Linked DNA regions of Homo sapiens: all the other regions are linked to region 1. The links are contacts of gene promoters, found by promoter capture Hi-C in blood cells and fetal thymus (Javierre and others, 2016). All regions are on one chromosome and are shown on one strand. The core of a region is centred on a gene start or on the middle of the fragment in contact, and the rest is flanking DNA. Distances in the headings are between cores, read along the strand shown.

What was found. The method cuts DNA at HindIII sites, captures the fragments that hold promoters and counts their contacts. A CHiCAGO score of 5 or more calls a contact.
Region 2: a fragment that was not itself captured here is called in contact with the fragment with the promoter of SOD1 in region 1 in 1 of 17 cell types (total B cells); the score reaches 5.4 in total B cells.
Region 3: a fragment that was not itself captured here is called in contact with the fragment with the promoter of SOD1 in region 1 in 4 of 17 cell types (M0 macrophages, total B cells, naive B cells and 1 more); the score reaches 5.8 in M0 macrophages.
Region 4: a contact is called between a fragment that was not itself captured here and the fragment with the promoter of SOD1 in region 1, in 6 of 17 cell types (fetal thymus, activated CD4 T cells, non-activated CD4 T cells and 3 more). The highest score is 10.6, in fetal thymus.
Region 5: a contact is called between a fragment that was not itself captured here and the fragment with the promoter of SOD1 in region 1, in 10 of 17 cell types (activated CD4 T cells, non-activated CD4 T cells, naive CD4 T cells and 7 more). The highest score is 10.8, in activated CD4 T cells.
Region 6: a contact is called between a fragment that was not itself captured here and the fragment with the promoter of SOD1 in region 1, in 5 of 17 cell types (activated CD4 T cells, total CD4 T cells, naive CD4 T cells and 2 more). The highest score is 11.1, in activated CD4 T cells.

The regions. Positions count from the first base shown.
Region 1 is chr21:31,658,214-31,661,023 of GRCh38, forward strand. SOD1 (superoxide dismutase 1) reads left to right here and starts at 1,480. Exons shown (of 5, transcript NM_000454.5): 1 at 1,480-1,628. The coding sequence starts at 1,557. It overlaps SOD1-DT (SOD1 divergent transcript), which reads right to left and starts at 1,811. Exons shown (of 3, transcript NR_187558.1): 1 at 1,184-1,811. RefSeq lists silencers at 1,093-1,412, 1,683-1,962 and an enhancer at 2,123-2,322. The HindIII fragment of the contact is 11,893 bases long and covers 1-2,810 here.
Region 2 is chr21:32,602,959-32,605,768 of GRCh38, forward strand. It overlaps CFAP298-TCP10L (CFAP298-TCP10L readthrough), which reads right to left. Exons shown (of 12, transcript NR_146639.2): 4 at 1,167-1,325; 5 at 203-334. It overlaps CFAP298 (cilia and flagella associated protein 298), which reads right to left. Exons shown (of 7, transcript NM_021254.4): 4 at 1,167-1,325; 5 at 203-334. Among named protein-coding and RNA genes, the nearest start is that of CFAP298, 8.0 kb to the right of the region's middle. RefSeq lists a silencer at 1,521-1,815. The HindIII fragment of the contact is 2,383 bases long and covers 258-2,640 here.
Region 3 is chr21:32,278,294-32,281,103 of GRCh38, forward strand. MIS18A (MIS18 kinetochore protein A) reads right to left here and starts at 756. Exons shown (of 5, transcript NM_018944.3): 1 at 388-756. The coding sequence starts at 721. It overlaps MIS18A-AS1 (MIS18A antisense RNA 1), which reads left to right and starts at 912. Exons shown (of 1, transcript NR_046576.1): 1 at 912-2,706. RefSeq lists enhancers at 5-506, 507-1,006, 950-1,169. The HindIII fragment of the contact is 886 bases long and covers 1,025-1,910 here.
Region 4 is chr21:31,098,097-31,100,906 of GRCh38, forward strand. No RefSeq gene overlaps it. Among named protein-coding and RNA genes, the nearest start is that of KRTAP19-8, 61 kb to the left of the region's middle. The HindIII fragment of the contact is 333 bases long and covers 1,163-1,495 here.
Region 5 is chr21:31,118,011-31,120,820 of GRCh38, forward strand. TIAM1 (TIAM Rac1 associated GEF 1) reads right to left here. Exons shown (of 28, transcript NM_001353694.2): 28 at 408-2,810. The coding sequence ends at 2,358. Among named protein-coding and RNA genes, the nearest start is that of KRTAP19-8, 81 kb to the left of the region's middle. The HindIII fragment of the contact is 1,420 bases long and covers 730-2,149 here.
Region 6 is chr21:31,135,657-31,138,466 of GRCh38, forward strand. It overlaps TIAM1 (TIAM Rac1 associated GEF 1), which reads right to left. Exons shown (of 28, transcript NM_001353694.2): 23 at 277-385. Among named protein-coding and RNA genes, the nearest start is that of KRTAP19-8, 99 kb to the left of the region's middle. RefSeq lists an enhancer at 1,411-1,460. The HindIII fragment of the contact is 1,924 bases long and covers 408-2,331 here.

The DNA of each region.
Region 1 (2,810 bases), core at 230-2,729:
ATCTGCCGAACTTCCTGGAACCCAAAGAAACTTTAGCCTTGGGCAAAGGCCCTTTGGCCAGCATTTGCACTGTTTATGCAACCGTTTAGAATATACGAATTATCTGGAGACTACTACCAAATACAACAGGCAAAACTGCAAATATGTATACTTCCTAGAGGATGATAAAAAAATGTGAATTGTATTTCTCTGATAGAGGATGCATTAGAGTCTGAGGGTCTAAATAGCGTAAATAATAAATAAGTAAATAAATCGATAGTAGTGTACTCCAAACGAGGCTGGAATAGCTTCTATTGTTGTTTCACACTGGACTTCAATTAAGTCTCAGTATTTTGCCATACTCAATATTAAGTACTAGGCTGGACGTGGTGGCTCATGTCTGTAATCCCAGCACTTTGGGAGGCCGAGGTGGGTAGATGGCTGGCTTGAGCTCAGGAGTTTGAAACCAGCCTGGGCAACATGGTAAAACCCCATCTGTACCCAAAATACAAAAATCAGCCAGGTGTGGTGGCACATGCCTGTGGTCCCAGGTACTTGGGAGGCTGAGGCAGGAGGATGGCTTGAACCCAGGAGGTGGAGGCTGCAGTGAGCTATGATGGCGCCACTGCACTCCAGCCTGGGTGACAGAGCGAGACCCTGTCTCAAAAATCAAACAAACAACCCCCTCGCCCCGGACAAAAGTAGTTTGCACTATTTTCTCATTTCACAATATGTTTTTGAAATATTTCCCTTGAAAGGTAAGTCATATTTATCATTCCTGTTGTATGGAGGCATCATAAATTATTTCACCATTCTACCCTCCTTGAGTGTTGTGGCCTTTAGGCCAGACAAAAACGCAGGTGATGCCTAGAAGCCAACTAGTTGCCGTTTGGTTATCTGTAGGGTTGTGGCCTTGCCAAACAGGAAAAATATAAAAAGAATACCGAATTCTGCCAACCAAATAAGAAACTCTATACTAAGGACTAAGAAAATTGCAGGGGAAGAAAAGGTAAGTCCCGGGATTGAGGTGTAGCGACTTTCTATACCCTCAGAAAACTAAAAAACAAGACAAAAAAATGAAAACTACAAAAGCATCCATCTTGGGGCGTCCCAATTGCTGAGTAACAAATGAGACGCTGTGGCCAAACTCAGTCATAACTAATGACATTTCTAGACAAAGTGACTTCAGATTTTCAAAGCGTACCCTGTTTACATCATTTTGCCAATTTCGCGTACTGCAACCGGCGGGCCACGCCCCCGTGAAAAGAAGGTTGTTTTCTCCACATTTCGGGGTTCTGGACGTTTCCCGGCTGCGGGGCGGGGGGAGTCTCCGGCGCACGCGGCCCCTTGGCCCCGCCCCCAGTCATTCCCGGCCACTCGCGACCCGAGGCTGCCGCAGGGGGCGGGCTGAGCGCGTGCGAGGCGATTGGTTTGGGGCCAGAGTGGGCGAGGCGCGGAGGTCTGGCCTATAAAGTAGTCGCGGAGACGGGGTGCTGGTTTGCGTCGTAGTCTCCTGCAGCGTCTGGGGTTTCCGTTGCAGTCCTCGGAACCAGGACCTCGGCGTGGCCTAGCGAGTTATGGCGACGAAGGCCGTGTGCGTGCTGAAGGGCGACGGCCCAGTGCAGGGCATCATCAATTTCGAGCAGAAGGCAAGGGCTGGGACGGAGGCTTGTTTGCGAGGCCGCTCCCACCCGCTCGTCCCCCCGCGCACCTTTGCTAGGAGCGGGTCGCCCGCCAGGCCTCGGGGCCGCCCTGGTCCAGCGCCCGGTCCCGGCCCGTGCCGCCCGGTCGGTGCCTTCGCCCCCAGCGGTGCGGTGCCCAAGTGCTGAGTCACCGGGCGGGCCCGGGCGCGGGGCGTGGGACCGAGGCCGCCGCGGGGCTGGGCCTGCGCGTGGCGGGAGCGCGGGGAGGGATTGCCGCGGGCCGGGGAGGGGCGGGGGCGGGCGTGCTGCCCTCTGTGGTCCTTGGGCCGCCGCCGCGGGTCTGTCGTGGTGCCTGGAGCGGCTGTGCTCGTCCCTTGCTTGGCCGTGTTCTCGTTCCTGAGGGTCCCGCGGACACCGAGTGGCGCAGTGCCAGGCCCAGCCCGGGGATGGCGACTGCGCCTGGGCCCGCCTGGTGTCTTCGCATCCCTCTCCGCTTTCCGGCTTCAGCGCTCTAGGTCAGGGAGTCTTCGCTTTTGTACAGCTCTAAGGCTAGGAATGGTTTTTATATTTTTAAAAGGCTTTGGAAAACAAAAATACGCAACAGAGACCGTTTGTGTGACACTTTGCAGGGAAGTTTGCTGGCCTCTGTTCTAGGTCATGATTGGGCTGCAAGGGCAGAGAAGGTAGCCTTGAACAGAGGTCCTTTTCCTCCTCCTAAGCTCCGGGAGCCAGAGGTTTAACTGACCCTTTTGGGGATTTTTGAGGGCAGTGATCTTAACTTTGGGTGCACAGTTAGCTTATTTGAAGATCTTACTAAAAATACACCAGAGCCCAACCTCCGACCAATTACATCAAAACCTGTCCTAGTGCAGGGTGAGTATTGCTGTTTTTTGAAAGTTTCCAAAAGTGATTTTGATGTGCACCTACGATTGAGAACTGTCGTTTGAGGACAGTGGGTGGAGTTTCGTATTTGGAAATTAGAAGACCTGGAGTTTCCATTACACCGAATTGGCACTTAATAACTGTTGTCGGAGCATTTCTTAAGCCACATTTTCGTAAAGTGGCTTTAAAATTGCTCTGCCAGTAGGCAGGTTGCTAAGATGGTCAGAGACAAACTTCTGAACGACTCTTGTAAAATATACAGAAATATTTTCAGAACTTTTATCAGTAAAATTACAAAACGTGTTG
Region 2 (2,810 bases), core at 199-2,698, 940 kb after region 1:
ACTCTAGATATTGGTACTCAATCCATATTTTCTTCCAGTTTTTGTTGGTGTGCAGGAAGAGGATATTTTTAGTTTAAACCCGAGCCAATAAGATTAAAATATTTGTACCAGTAGTTTAAATCTTTCGGATTCACTGTACATTTTTATCAGTTTGAAGGGAAATAACAAAAACTACTGACACATTAAAGCAAAAAGTACTTACTTGCTGAATCTTGGCGATAATTTTGGTTTTTTCATTCTTCCCCACGTAGTCTGAAAGCTTCTTCGTTCTTCTCAGCTCCTTGGCTGCCCACCACAGCTGCGCCTCTGCCTCTTTAATGACGTTGAGCCCTGCCTGGGGCCAGTCGTAAGAATGGCTTGACTGTGTGTTCCCACCCAGGGGGCAGAGCCCAGCTGAGCCCCTCCCAGCAGGGGGCAGGGGACAGATTTCTCCCCGTGCTCACCATGGGAGGCCTGACTCCCGCACCTCACTCTAAGTCCTTGCTGACTTTAGTACCTTCCCTGTTAAGTTTCCACTCATGCCCTGACTCAGTTAACTTCCTCCTCTGGACAACAGGGAGATCCTATCTCATTTGCACCTTGATCCATATAGTTCGTCTTAGACAGATCTGTAGGCCACTGCCAGGGAAGGGCACTGGCATCGTGCTGGGTGTTTAAATCGAGGTATAAAGGGGCTGCCTGTTTACTTCTGCATATTTCATTTATTTAACATGGCTTAGACAAAGAATATTGTCCAATAGGATAAGAAGTGAGAAAACCCAAGGAAAATGGAACATGAGGGTCAGAAAATAACATGAAGCAACAGGTAAGACTAGAAACACAAATTTCCATGCAAAGGGACTGACGCATTTGGGTAGAAATAGGAAGAAATTAGGTAGCTGGCTTCCTAGCAGCCAAAGACAGTGGAAATGTTTGCAGTCACTCCTGATGAGCGGCCTCACAAACTGCGTCCACTGCCTCCTGTGTGTGGGGCCAAACCCCTCACTCATGAGTACCCACTCTCAGGGGCTGCTCCTGAATTCAGAACTCTGCTCTGAAGCAGGGCATAGCAAACCTGAAAGCTGTGTAGGGAGCAAAACACTACATCCAGAAGAGGGGCATCAAATCTTAAGGGCTTTGGGGGCCAGGAACTCAACCTCCAGAGTACCCACTCACAAACTACGTACCTGTGTTCCCGACAAGTCTTCCTTATTTTCAAACTCCATGCGGATGGGATCATACGGTGGCAACCCCATGGGGTAAACAATCATCACCGCGCCTCGAAGCTGGTCCAAGGCATCTTTCACCATCTCCATGGTAACACAGACACCGGCTTCCACTTGTTTCTGCAAGCAGAAAGCCATCGTTATCTACAGTGTGGCTAATCACTTCCATAAATTCGATCAAGATCTTGTACAAGACCCTTGCCAGATACTGCCAGAGCAACAAAAAGAAATCAAACAGTTCTTGCTCCCAGAGTGACTACCATCTATTTCAGGGGCTGAGCGAAGCACACCGTGGCCTGTATTATAAAGCAGACGGTGAGCAGCACTGAGCATGGAGTACAATGAAGTGCAAAGAATTCTCAAAGGAGAAAGAGCCCAATGCTGGCAGCACAGATGGCAGTGAGGATCGGGAGATACGGCAGGGGGAGCAGGCACCGCAGGTGGGCCTCGAAATGCAGATGGGCTGAAAAGGTACAGATGGCAGCAGGTGCTTCAGGACAAGCTGAAACAAAGAAAAGCAGGCGCCAGCCCCCTCAGCATGGGGCAGGAAGGAGAGAAGATGAGGCCAGCTCTAGCTGGATCAGCTGAAGTTTGTTTTTGAATGGCCACAAAAGCCAGGCTGAAGAGTTCACCTTTCCTCTGTTAGGCCACGGGAAGCGACTGCCTTTTCTGGGAAGGAGTGGTAATGTTGAGAGATTTATCTTGTAGCTGATATAGAACAGACCTAGTTGGCCAGATGTGGTGGCTCACACCTTATGTAATCCCAGCACTTTGGGAGGCCGAGGTGGGCAAATCACCTGAGGTCAGCAGTTCGAGACCAGCCTGGCCAACATGGCAAAGCCCTGTCTCTACTAAAAATACAAAAATTAGCTGGGCGTGGTGGCAGGTGCCTGTAGTCCCAGCTACTCAGCAGGCTGAGGCAGGACAATTGCTTGAGCCTGGGAGGCAGAGGTTGGAGTAAGCCAAAATCGTGCCACTGCACTCCAGCTTGGGCAACAGAATAAGACTCTGCCTCAAAAAAAAGAACAGACCTAGTTGGAGGGAGACCAGGTAGCAGGCTCTGAAGAGTACAGAGGAAGGTGTGATGAAATAACAAATATATCTGGTCTTTGCTACTCAGTTCCAGGCACAGAGCTCCAAAACTCTTGGAATTTCCTGAGTGACAGGAGTGTCTTGTTATTTATAACGAGCCCCTTCTCACCATACCTGAGCTTGTGCTAATACAGTAACCTGTAGTCCGCGCTGGGTTTCAAGGAAGGGGCTGGCCGTGCCTGGGAGACCAAGCACATAATTAGAGGGTTGGAGCTTTCGGCCTCACTCCCTTCCTCCACCTCCAGGCGCTAGAGGTTGGGATCAAACACGTGGCCAGTGGTTTAAGCCATCATGCCTACTGAACAAAAACGCTATAAAAATCCCAGACATCATGGCTCAGTGAAGCTTCCTGATTGGTGAAGACGTTGATGTGCCGGGTGACACACATCAGTGGGGGCGTTGTGGGAAGCTCCAAATTTGTAGTCAAGCTGGACACAAGTATGGGTGGCCTGGGGACCTCACGTGCAGCTGGTGTCTGAAATAAGAGGAGTCTTGTTGGTGATCTCACCCTTT
Region 3 (2,810 bases), core at 218-2,717, 620 kb after region 1:
AGCCTGCTAATTTCTATGGGGAGTAATAGTACTGGCTGCACCTCAAGTGCTTACAGTCTAGTTGACCATTTGTTTCTCTTTTTTTAGGGTCTTTAAAAGTGTTATTCTTTGTCGCCCTTTGTTTCTGAGTAATGCTCACGATGATGCTGATTCAACCACTGCTCTTCTGGGATCGGGGACCCCAGAAAAGAACCCACCGCCCGAGAGCCAAAGTGGAGGGGTGACCCTCCTCCCCTTTTCCTGCCACAGCTCACACTCTCAGACTTTTTGCTCTTAAAGTCCCTGGGCAGCCCCAAGGAGCCCCCGCCTCCTCCCGGGCCGCCCACGCGCGGCACCCCTGGAAGAAGGCGACCCCACGCCCCCCCTGCCCGGCTCGACCCAACTGACAGCGAAGCAGGATGCAGTTGGTGTCCTCCTGGCTGGCCACCCAGCTCAGCGAGTCGCCCAGCGGCCGCCGGCAGCCGGAGCACAGGAACACCAGCGGCCTCTCCTCCGCAGCCGCCGCCTCCTCCTCCAGCTGCGCCCTCTCCATGTCGGCCACCGACGCGTCTTCGCTCATGGAGCTCCACATGCTCGCCCACTTCTGCAACAGCTGGTGGCGGCTCGAGTCTTCGGAGAGTCTCTTGCCCAACAGCGAGGAGTCGCTGCATTTGCCCTTGTCGCCGCACTCACAGCCGCCAGCGCATCCTCTGCTACACCTCAGTGACCGAACGCCTGCCATTACCTACAAATCGCCCGCGCCCCAGAGCGCCATGGGAAAAAAAACCGCCGCTGCTCATGCGCGGGGCGGGGAGCGGTGGCGGAGGCCGAGAAGGGGCAAAAGCCTGAAGGGGGCGGGACGGCGGGCGGCCTCTAGTGCGCATGCGCGCCGTGCGGCCTTGGCCAAGCGTGATAGTCACTGCGCCTGCGTCAGGTTTTCCAGCCTGAAGAAATTGATGATGCAGACCTGTTTGCTTGTCTTCCTAAGGATTATTCACCCCTTTCCGTGGGAGGGGCAGCGTCACTGAGAAAGTTACGGGTTGCAAGCTTGAGTGTCTAAGAACCGCCTGGCGAGCTTCTTAAGCAGATCGCCAGGTTCCATCTTCGCAGACTCTGGTTCAGCAGGTAGCAGGTTAGCCCGAGAATCTGCATTTCTAACAAGCTCCTAGGCGTGCCCACGCTGTCAGTATTGGCAGCCCAACCTTTTTTGGGGGGTGGGGGGGGGAGTTTTTCTATGTTGCCGGTCTCGAACTCCTAGCCTTAAGCGATCTTCCCTACTCGGCCTCCCAAAATGCCAGGATCGCAAGCGTAAGCCACTGTGCCAGACCACCACCCTTTTTCTTCTTTTTTGTAAGTGGACTAATTATAGTTGTATATAAGCAGCTCCACTTTTGATGACCACTGCTCTATTTTGTCGGCTCCTGGGGACCTCCTTTCCATGAAGTGGAGAAGGAAGGGGATAGAGGAGTCCCTCATCACAGGGTCCTTTTGCGCACTGCTATCCCTGGAATGAGACCCTGGGAAGGGCCCCGGATCACTCAGGCTGTCACTGCAAGGAAAAAGTTGAGGAAGCAGCAGTGCCCCTGGAAAGCCTGGAAGTGTCCCTGCTGCTTGGATCAAGGAACAATTCGTCCTTGCAAGGAAGAAGCATCCCTTGTTGATGATAAGGACAGATTTCCTCAGCTGCCCCAGAAAGCCAGCCTCTGCCTAAAACACCGTAGGTCAGGAGGGAAAGCTGGCGGGGAACCAGCCAGCTGCACCACAGACAGTCTGGTGGTATACCTGGGAAGAAAGCTACCTGCAAGGACCTACTCTGTTCCTACTACGCTCTGGGTGTCCCCCAAGTCACTGCCTATTTTGCTTGGTTGCATAAACTATTTATGTAAATGTACTTCCAATTTTAGTGCTTACAGCCACTAGCAAAAAGCAAAAGCTTTGGAGTCAGTGGTCCTGGTTAACTTACCCCTCCCTCCACAAGGTAGTAACAGTGTAGGGAACTGTGGAAAAGGCTGTTTGCCTTCCCTGAGTCTAATTCTTCATGGAGTAAATGGAGTCTGTTTCTTCAGTACTACACCAAGTTGTTCATGAGGATCGAGTTTTCTAATATTCATGAAAATACTTTGTAAACCCTGGCACACCATGCTCATGTTAATCACCTTCTTACTGGAAGAAAATGCTTTAGATAATTTAGGCTTTTTTTTTTTACCCATAGAATTCCCTTCCTTCCTTCTGCTTTTTTTTTTCTTTTCTTTATTTTTTCAGAGATGATGTTTCAGTATGTTGCCCAGGCTGGTCTCGAACTCCTGGCCTCAAGCGATCCTCCTGCCTCAGCCTCCCAAGTAGCTGGAACTACAGGCATGCCTCACCATACTTTGCCCCTTCTACTTTTGTAGAGCCAAGCCTGACCTTCCTGGACTGTTGTTTTCAAGCATAATATCTCTGGTACAACATTGATACAATCCACATGAGTTCTTTAAGTAAGTGGCTAGTTACTTGGGGATTCAAAGGATCATCTTGTCTCAGACTTTGGGTTCCTATTGTCAATACTTAAATTCTATGATAGGATGCCCCAGGAAAGAAGGAATACAAGGCCGAGCTGCGTGGTGACTTTCAGGGGCCCTATTTTTGCCTTAGTAGGCCTTTCTCTCCATAAAACAGTTAATAAAAATTTCATTTTATAGTCACATTGCTATGAAGATGATTATATTAAAATGATATCATAAAACATTTTTAGACCTGTAAGTTCATTTATTGCTCTTGATTAAAAAAATTGAAACATTTTCATGGTCCTTCAGAATATCATGGTTTGTAGGCATGATGCCTCCTGCACA
Region 4 (2,810 bases), core at 79-2,578, 560 kb before region 1:
GGCTGGTCTCGAACTCCTGACCTCAAGTGATCCGCCCTCCTCAGTCTCCCAAATTGCTGGGATTACAGGCGTGAGCTACTGCACCCGGCCTAAATTTTACAGGAAGCAGGACTCAGTGATGGATTGGATGTGGACTACAGAGAGAGATGACTAGTTTTCCAGCCTGAGCAACCTGAGAGAAGGTGAGGCCATTTACTGAGATGACGGAAGAAGATAAAGTGAAGGTGGAAATGATAAGTTCAGTTTGGGACATATTGGCCTTGAGGGGCTTTGTAAATTTTCAGGTTCTGAGGCTCCAGTGGTGGCAGCAGCAATCACCCGTGGCCTTGTGTGTGGCACCCAGCATCTGTTCTAATTCCATCCATCACCAGCTGATTCTCATTTCCCAAGCCTTTGTTCAGGCTATCGAACTCCAGGGATCTGAGTTACCCTCTCCTATTCCTAAACACTGTCCCCAGCCAAACCCCACTTAACCTAATTACTAGGCATGTGAGCCTGGGCAAACCGCTTCACTGCTCTAGGCCTCGGTTCCTCATCTGTAAAATGAGAGGGTTACAAAATATGACGTCCAAGGGTCCTTCTACGTCCATTCTGGTTCTAAATAAAATGCGGCACTTTGCTGATCCACCGCGAGAGGGCACCAGAGAAACGTCCTCGCACAGGACCGCGCTGAAAGTGCCCCGAACCAGCCAGGCACGGTACCAGGCGGGATGCTGTGAGGGAGGTGGAAATAAGGTGGAACGCCATCCTTCCGCATCCTTCCGCATCCTTCCTACTCGGGCAAACCCTTAGATCTGGGAAAAACGTTCGATAAGCAGCAACCGCAGCCAACATTCTATTTATCCCCTTTATTTCTTTATCAAGACAAAAATCATTCTCCGGCTCTTCACTGCCAGAACCTGTTCGTTAAATGCACGAATTTTCAAGGTAAATTAGATCCAACTGGCACATTACAATCACCTGGATGCTCTTAAATACACCGATGCTCCGCTCCCAACCCAGAGCAGCGTGAGGGGCCACAGCCCTCCCTTTAGCTAAAAGATGAACTTGGGACAGATTCCTGCTTGGGACGGGTTCCTGCTCATCTCCCACTCCTGGACCCCGGAAACTCACAGCCTGGTTGCTAAGTCAGATTTAACTCCTTTGTGGACATTGCCAAAAAAGCTTGAGACGATCCTACAGGTCTCCAGCAGGGAGCACGGGGGTACACGTCATACCCTCAAAGCTGGGTCGGCAAAAAGCCCTTGATGCGTGGCGAGCTTGCTCTGTTATCCTTACTACGAGAAGCAGAGTGGCATCTTGCTCCTTGGATTTCTAGCATACAGTCCTGTTATGATAGCTAATCGATAAACTGTCTGGCTTGGAAATGCACGGTCTTCCAGTCTTTCCCTCTGTGTGCGGTCTAATCCCGGTCATGAACACGAAACACAAAAGCTGCTGTTTGTGGTGTGAGCCACACCTTCCTCCCTCACCTCTAAGATGGTGAGAAAAGATAAGCTTATCCGCCCAATTCATCTGACAGGGTTTGGGAGGACCAGATACATGTATAGGTACATGTTCTGAAGTGTATAATACAAATGCAATCTCCAGGTGGAATTATTTTAAAGGTGTGATTAATTTTACTGTTGATAATATAATTATACAAGGGTGTCATTGTTTTCAAGGTAACGTTCACATCACAGTGTTTTATTTACAATAGCTAAAATGTAAATGATCTAAATATCCAACATTATCAAATATCAAGTTGAGACCCTCCCTTTGTTAGCAAGTATTTGAGGACCTATAGCGTGTTAGTCTGTTTTTGCATTGCTATAAAGGAATATCTTGGCCAGGCTCAGTGGCCCACACCTGTAATCCCAGCATTTTGGGAGGCCAAGGTGGGCGGATCACGAGGTCAGGAGTTCAAGACCAGCCTGGCCAATATGGTGAAACCCTGTCTCTACTAAAAATACAAAAATTAGCTGGGCATGTGGCGCATACCTATAGTCCTAGCTACTTGGCAGGCTGAGGCAGAAGAATCGCTTGAACCCAGAAGGCAGAGGTTGCAGTGAGCCGAGATCATGCTACTGCACTCCAGCCTGGGTGACAGAGTGAGACTCTGTCTCAAAAAACAAAAACAAAAAAGAAAAAGAAAAGGAATACTTGAGGCTGGTAATTTATAATAAAAGAGGTTTAATTGGCTCATGGTTCTGCAGGTTGTACAAGCATGGCTCCAGCGTCTGCCTCTGGTGAGGCCTCAGGAAGCTTCTAATCATGGCAGATGGCGAAGGGAGAGAAGGTGATGTCACATGGCAAGATCCAGGGTTGCCGGGAGGTTCCAGACTTTTATACAACCAGGTCTCACGTGAACTCACCGAGCAAGAACTCACTTATCACCTGGGGATGGTGCGAAGCCATTCACGAGAGACCTGCCCCCGTGATCAAATCACCCCCACCAGGCCTCACCTCCAGTACTGAGAATCACATTTCAACATGAGATTTGGAGGGGGCACACGTCCAAACTCTATCATTTGGTGTGTCATCCCAAAGGGAATCTTTGTAACCATTAAAAAGTATGTTATAGGAAGATGCTTAATGATAAGGGGAACTACTCATGATGGATAATAAATGAAGGCAGATAGTACAATAAGGTACAATATGATTCTATTTAAATATGCATTTATATATGTGTATAAGTTAGACACGTGTATACATATGAAAATATAGGAGCAATACCCAAATGTTAGCAATGGTTATGTAGAGGCAAACCGGATCTGCCATATATGGGTGGCTTCTTGTGTCATTTACAGACAGAAGAACAGCTAATATGA
Region 5 (2,810 bases), core at 190-2,689, 540 kb before region 1:
AAGGCAGCCCAAGACTGTATTTACCTTGTTTGGTGATTCTGTGAAAGACTCAGGCAGCAGGCCCCCGGTGATAAAATGTGGAGTGATTCAAGAGCTCAGTCAGGCCAGTCAGAGCTCTGCACTTCACCCCAATATTTTCACAGGAACCCCCCCAGCCTGCTCCCATCGGGATAGGCAGGAGACTGGAAAAGAAACAGTGCCCAGTAGGGGCAACGTTAGGTCAAGATGCCATGCAACTGTAATGCACCTTTTGTTGTTGTTAAAACTTCAAGCGCTACAACAGCGTTCTCCTGATGATCACGAGTTATTTCAATAAATGGCATTCCCAGGAATCTTCTCCCACGGCCGCTCTCCCGCCAACAATTCATACTCATCCTCCCATCCAAAAAGGCATAGAACCGCCCAGACACTTTTCGTTATTTTTATTGTTTGACAAGCATTTACAACGTTCCATTCATAGACCTAAAAACATAAAAATAGACCTTCTTTCAGCTTATAAAAGAAATATATAAGAACTTTTGACATAGACACGTCATGACCTTATGTACAAGAGACAATGGCACCCTCTCCAAGCACCAGACTTCCGAGTGTTTTCAGATGGATGTGTTGCACTGGAGCCAGTAAATGCGACGATTAGAAGCCTCTGCTTCCGTTTTCCATCTGGACGCGATCGAACCGGAGATGATATGGAAAAATGCAGTGATACAAAGGGTATAGAAACCATTCTAAAGCTTTTTCAGAAAACCAGAAGATATAGCAAAAATTTAATAGAATAAAACTTTCAAAAGATCAAGCTCGAAGCCCTGGAAACCCGAAAGGCGGGGGGAATACAGGGTGGGAACGCAGGAAAAGCAGGCAGAGGCACAAGAGCATGATGTACTGAACTCTCTATTGTCTGGAAATATAAAGTCATAACTGATTTTTATAAAATATAACTCCTAAAGCTACTATAAAATTCAGGTCTTTAAAGTACCTACTGATGTGTCAAACACCAAATAGATATTTTCCCCAAAAAGAAAGTTTTCATAGTATTTTAAACCCTTCTTAGGAAGTGGACATTGTGACATGGGAAAAGAAAAAGCTATAAACCTTTTTTTAAAAAAAAAAAAAAAATTGAAAGTGCTATAACTTGTTTTTCTTCTTAGTATTTGGATATCTGTTTAGACTGTTAATGTTTTGAGCATGTTTACCCTGTTTCGTTGGCATGAAGAAAGTGTTAAACACAAGAGAAGTTTTTAAAGAGGTTGTTCTGTTTAAAGGTTTGGTTATGGACTGTCAGGGAAGGGGAAGGTAATCTATGGATGAAGATGCAATTTTGATGGAAAAACCAATGATCACCATGGCAACCCCATGAGAAGGAGGCTCCCCTCCCTGCCATGTGCAACAGACACACACACCGCCCACCGGGGTGTCATGTTTAATCCAACCAAACTCCCATCTCAAATATAGATTCAAACATTAAAAAAAAAAAATCCGCTTTTTGGAAGAAAAGTATATCCTTCGCATGAGCTTGCTGGCCTTTCATATATAAATATAAAACCACCACGCCTCACTCTCTCTGTAAAAGGTTATATCCTCATTTTTTAGGCTCAGGGATACATACACTAACACTGTAAAATTCTCATCTATTTGTGCCCCTGTATCTCAGGTAAAATACAAAAAATAGTGTTTCTTTTCTTTCTCTCAAGCGATAAATTTGGATCTCTTTTCAAAGAGTTTGGCATCTCTATAATTCTATGCAAAACTAGAGCTTCCGAACATGGACACAGAGTAAGACCAGCCATAGACCAAAACAGGAAGGAAAAAAAAAAAGAGGCTCATTGAAACATGAATCGCCACCCTCTCCTCACACATTCTTAAAATACACGGAGATTCTCAGACATGGAAGAGGGAAGGGTACAGTCAGAACACGGCAAGCTGTACACATTTCATTTTGTGTGTGAAAGAGGTTTCCCCAGCTAGGAGACTGATTTCAGATAGAAGGATCGTGTGTGTGCTACTATCCCTTAAATTAATCTGTTGTACATCCGTTAACTCCTGGGGTGATTTGCTTTCCAGTGCTATAGAATCTTTTTTCTTTTAATTGTTCAGGCCCTGATTTATTGAGAATAAATAAAAGCCCTTAGTAATATACAGAAGATAGGACTCAAGCTTATTTGGGATTCTGATCAATTCTTTCTGATGTTGTTGAAAATGACAAAGTTGGGTGGCTACATGGCTTCAGAACCAAGTCAGCTGCCAAAACCGTGTGTGCAAGAGCGCGACCTAAGGGGACATTCTTGTCGACGGTACAGGAGGGTGGGCAGAGTTAGGGCAGGAAGTATCTACACACATTCTCTACGGGGCAGGTGACGCAGTCAGATCTCAGTGTTCAGTTTCCTGGAGGGGGCAAAGTCTTCACGCCTAACCCAAATGACTTCCTCGCTTGCGCTCTCCAGGCCTCCATTGATCCCCGACAGGGCAGCTTGCTTCTTGAGCTGTGCCATGCGGGACGCGTGACTATCCAGGGTTTTCCGGCCTCTTTCCCGCTGACTGATGGAGGTGGCCTGAAGCCGCTCCTGCAGGTCTCTGTCCACTGAGGCACCCTTCACGGACTCACAGAACTCATCATCGTCACTGAGGATGTCTGTCTCCTTGATGTCATCTTGCTCCTCATACTGAGCAAGATCAAACTGCTCCTCTACCCATCGGTCAGTGTCCCCACCACCGGGGGGCTGCTGGGACTCTTTCTCCGGGCTGCTTGCGGAGACGGCATCAGAATCAATGGTAAACCTGTTTCGAGCCAGCCGCCGCCTCCTCCTCCCAAGAGA
Region 6 (2,810 bases), core at 120-2,619, 520 kb before region 1:
AAAAAAATTCTTTTCCTGCCTCTGTGTTTATGTCTGGGATAGACTTGGGCACAGCCATTTCCGCCCACCCATGTGGCTGAGTGACCACATAGGGCAATTTAACTCGAAGGTTTCATTTAGTGTTTGTGAGATGTTGGTGGCTACGGCAGGAAGACCGATTCAAGTAACTGCAATTAACTTTATTTTTAATCAATTGGGTCTTGAAAAAGAAATGTTCTTGTTTTGAAAACTAAGCTAGACTTTTCCCCCTCCATAAAACGCTTTTCTGATACACACCGAATGCTGCCAACTCTGGTTCCTTTTTCCACTTGCCCAGCGAGGCCGGCGGGTTCAGCCAGATCACGGTAGTGTGCAAAAGCAGGTCTCCCATGCTCAGATCTGCAACCTGAAAGCCAGAGACGTGACAAAGCTTACTGGGTGGTGTTATCAATACTCAGATTTTCATGATGTTTGAAAATTCAGCATGCTGATATTAATTTTACTTCAAGAAAATACTGCTCCTAAAAACATTTGCTTAAATATGTGAGATAATGCTAAGTTAAACTGCTGGATTTAGCCATTCCACAATGTAACATATCAAAACATCATGTTGTACACCATAAATATATAAAATTTTTACTTGTCAATTTCATGTTTTTGAGAAAAGAAATCGCACCAAAATGACAGACTACATTTTTTAAAAATATTTTCGATTTGTGACTGTCTCAATAAACACCACCTCCCATCAAAACAGGCTGAAGATACAATATCCAGTTAACCTTTCCAATGGGAAATAATAGTATCATTATGTTCTAGCCAAGTTTGAGCTAGGAACAATACAATGAAATTTTAACGAAAAAAAAAATCCTTTAATTCATATGAAATCTCCTAATTGAAAAATAAATCCTCTCCATTCCCAAAGAAACACATGGAATACAGGGGAGAGAAAAGGCTCATCTTTTTTTTCCCCATTTATTCCATGCTTGTCTACTAGAATTTCAGAAAAGGATGGCAAATAGGTACAAACTGGGGCTCTGAAATTCACATGCAGTTAGTCTGTCAAAACTGATCTACAAAACTGGAGATGTTTTGTGTTCAGAGACAGTTTCCCAAGGAGATGCTAATGGCCGTCCATGACAAAGATCCACCCCCAGATAACTGCAGACATTTCCACCAGTGAATATCCACTTTTGGGAAATGTAGGCAAATTATTTCTTCTTCCAATCCATTTCAAAGACGACTTTATTTCACTTTAGATGAGGGAGAGAGAAGCCAATAAAGAGTTTGAAGATTCCTCTATTGGCACAGGCAGCGTGAATGCTGGAATCCCAAGAGACCATGAGGTTTAGTCGCTCACCCCCAGCGGTCACACGCTAAACTGTCTCCGACAGACAAGTGCTGGTTGCAGAGCCATCTAGACACGATGATCCAGAGAGTCTGATGCAAGTTCAACGTCTATGCCTCACAACAGTCCCGTCTGCTTTTCTCACTGCAGTCACTGGCCTCCTTCCAAATCTAGCTGGGTTTCCTATACAGCAGCAACCTGGCGACCCGCCACTGAACACAGTGCAGTTTGGATTGCCCTTCTCGAGCCACCAAAACAGGCTACCGTGCTGAGATGTGGCTCCAGCAGTACAGGATACAGAGGTATTGTTGCCTCCCTTGATTGAAATTATTATAATCATCACTGTCATTATTACTAAGCTATAGTACCATTAGTACAATCAAGGGTTAAAATAATTTTTAAGCAGCCATATTATTTTGTCTATAGATATTAAGTAACTCATCAACCAAACCCCCAGGATATGATCAGCCAAGGTAATGACATAGTCTCCACTACCTATCCCCCGAAGACCCACATAGAAGAGGAGGAGTTACATACAAAAGACAAATTCCCAGAGGCCACAGCCCCTGGGAGTACGTCTTTAAAAGTGATTAAAGGCCAACATGGTAGACTGTCCAAACTCTACTTCTTCCAACAGAATTACATTATCTGCACCTTCTGCCATGTGATTTTCCAGCACCTCCCACTAGACTAGGCAGGGTACACACATCGCCGCCCGGATGACTTTGGGTGTAGGCATGTGACTTAGAGCCCACCTTCCAGCCATGGGAAGGACTTGCCCAAGACAGCCATTGCTGCTTCAGCCTGGATCCTGGAAGGAAGAGACAAGGAGCACACCAGAACCTTCAGAACTGGAGCTAACCAAGAGAAACCAAACCTTGGTTGACCTACAAAGCCACATACGAGATAAATATCTGTTGTAGAGAACCACTGAGATTTCCAGTTATTTGTTACACAACTGAAAATGGGCTGATGCTGTTCCTGTGCACAGGGTTTTTCTCTGGACAAGCTTCCCAGGGCAAGTGGACTAGGGGGTCAGGGTGCTCCCTCTGGCCACAGCCTCTCTCTGGGGCTTCCACTGGTTCCCTTCTGAATCCTCCTCCCAAACCCCAAGAAAGAGTTCTGCTGGGAGGCCTCCACCTTACTAAGGACTGGGATGCCCGACTGAGTCAGCATTTTTAAGGACTTCTTTTAAGGGGAAATGCCCTCTTGCATTCTTCTTCCTCCTAGTTAAGCAAAAGGGATTTCTTAGCCTAACTCCCCAGAGTTTAACATGGGGGTAGGAGGTTGAAGGCCCAGTTTCATCAAAAAGCTGTTTCTTTGCCAGCTTTGTTCTCTGTGAACCTATTTGCCTTCAGAGATATCTTAAGGAATGTTGGTTGAAGACCCAATTCAGGTACCTTGTGTTCCTAGAATGTTACCATTTTACAATAAACCTGCTGTTACCAGCAGATACTGATAAATGTTCCTATTCCTCTTTACAAAC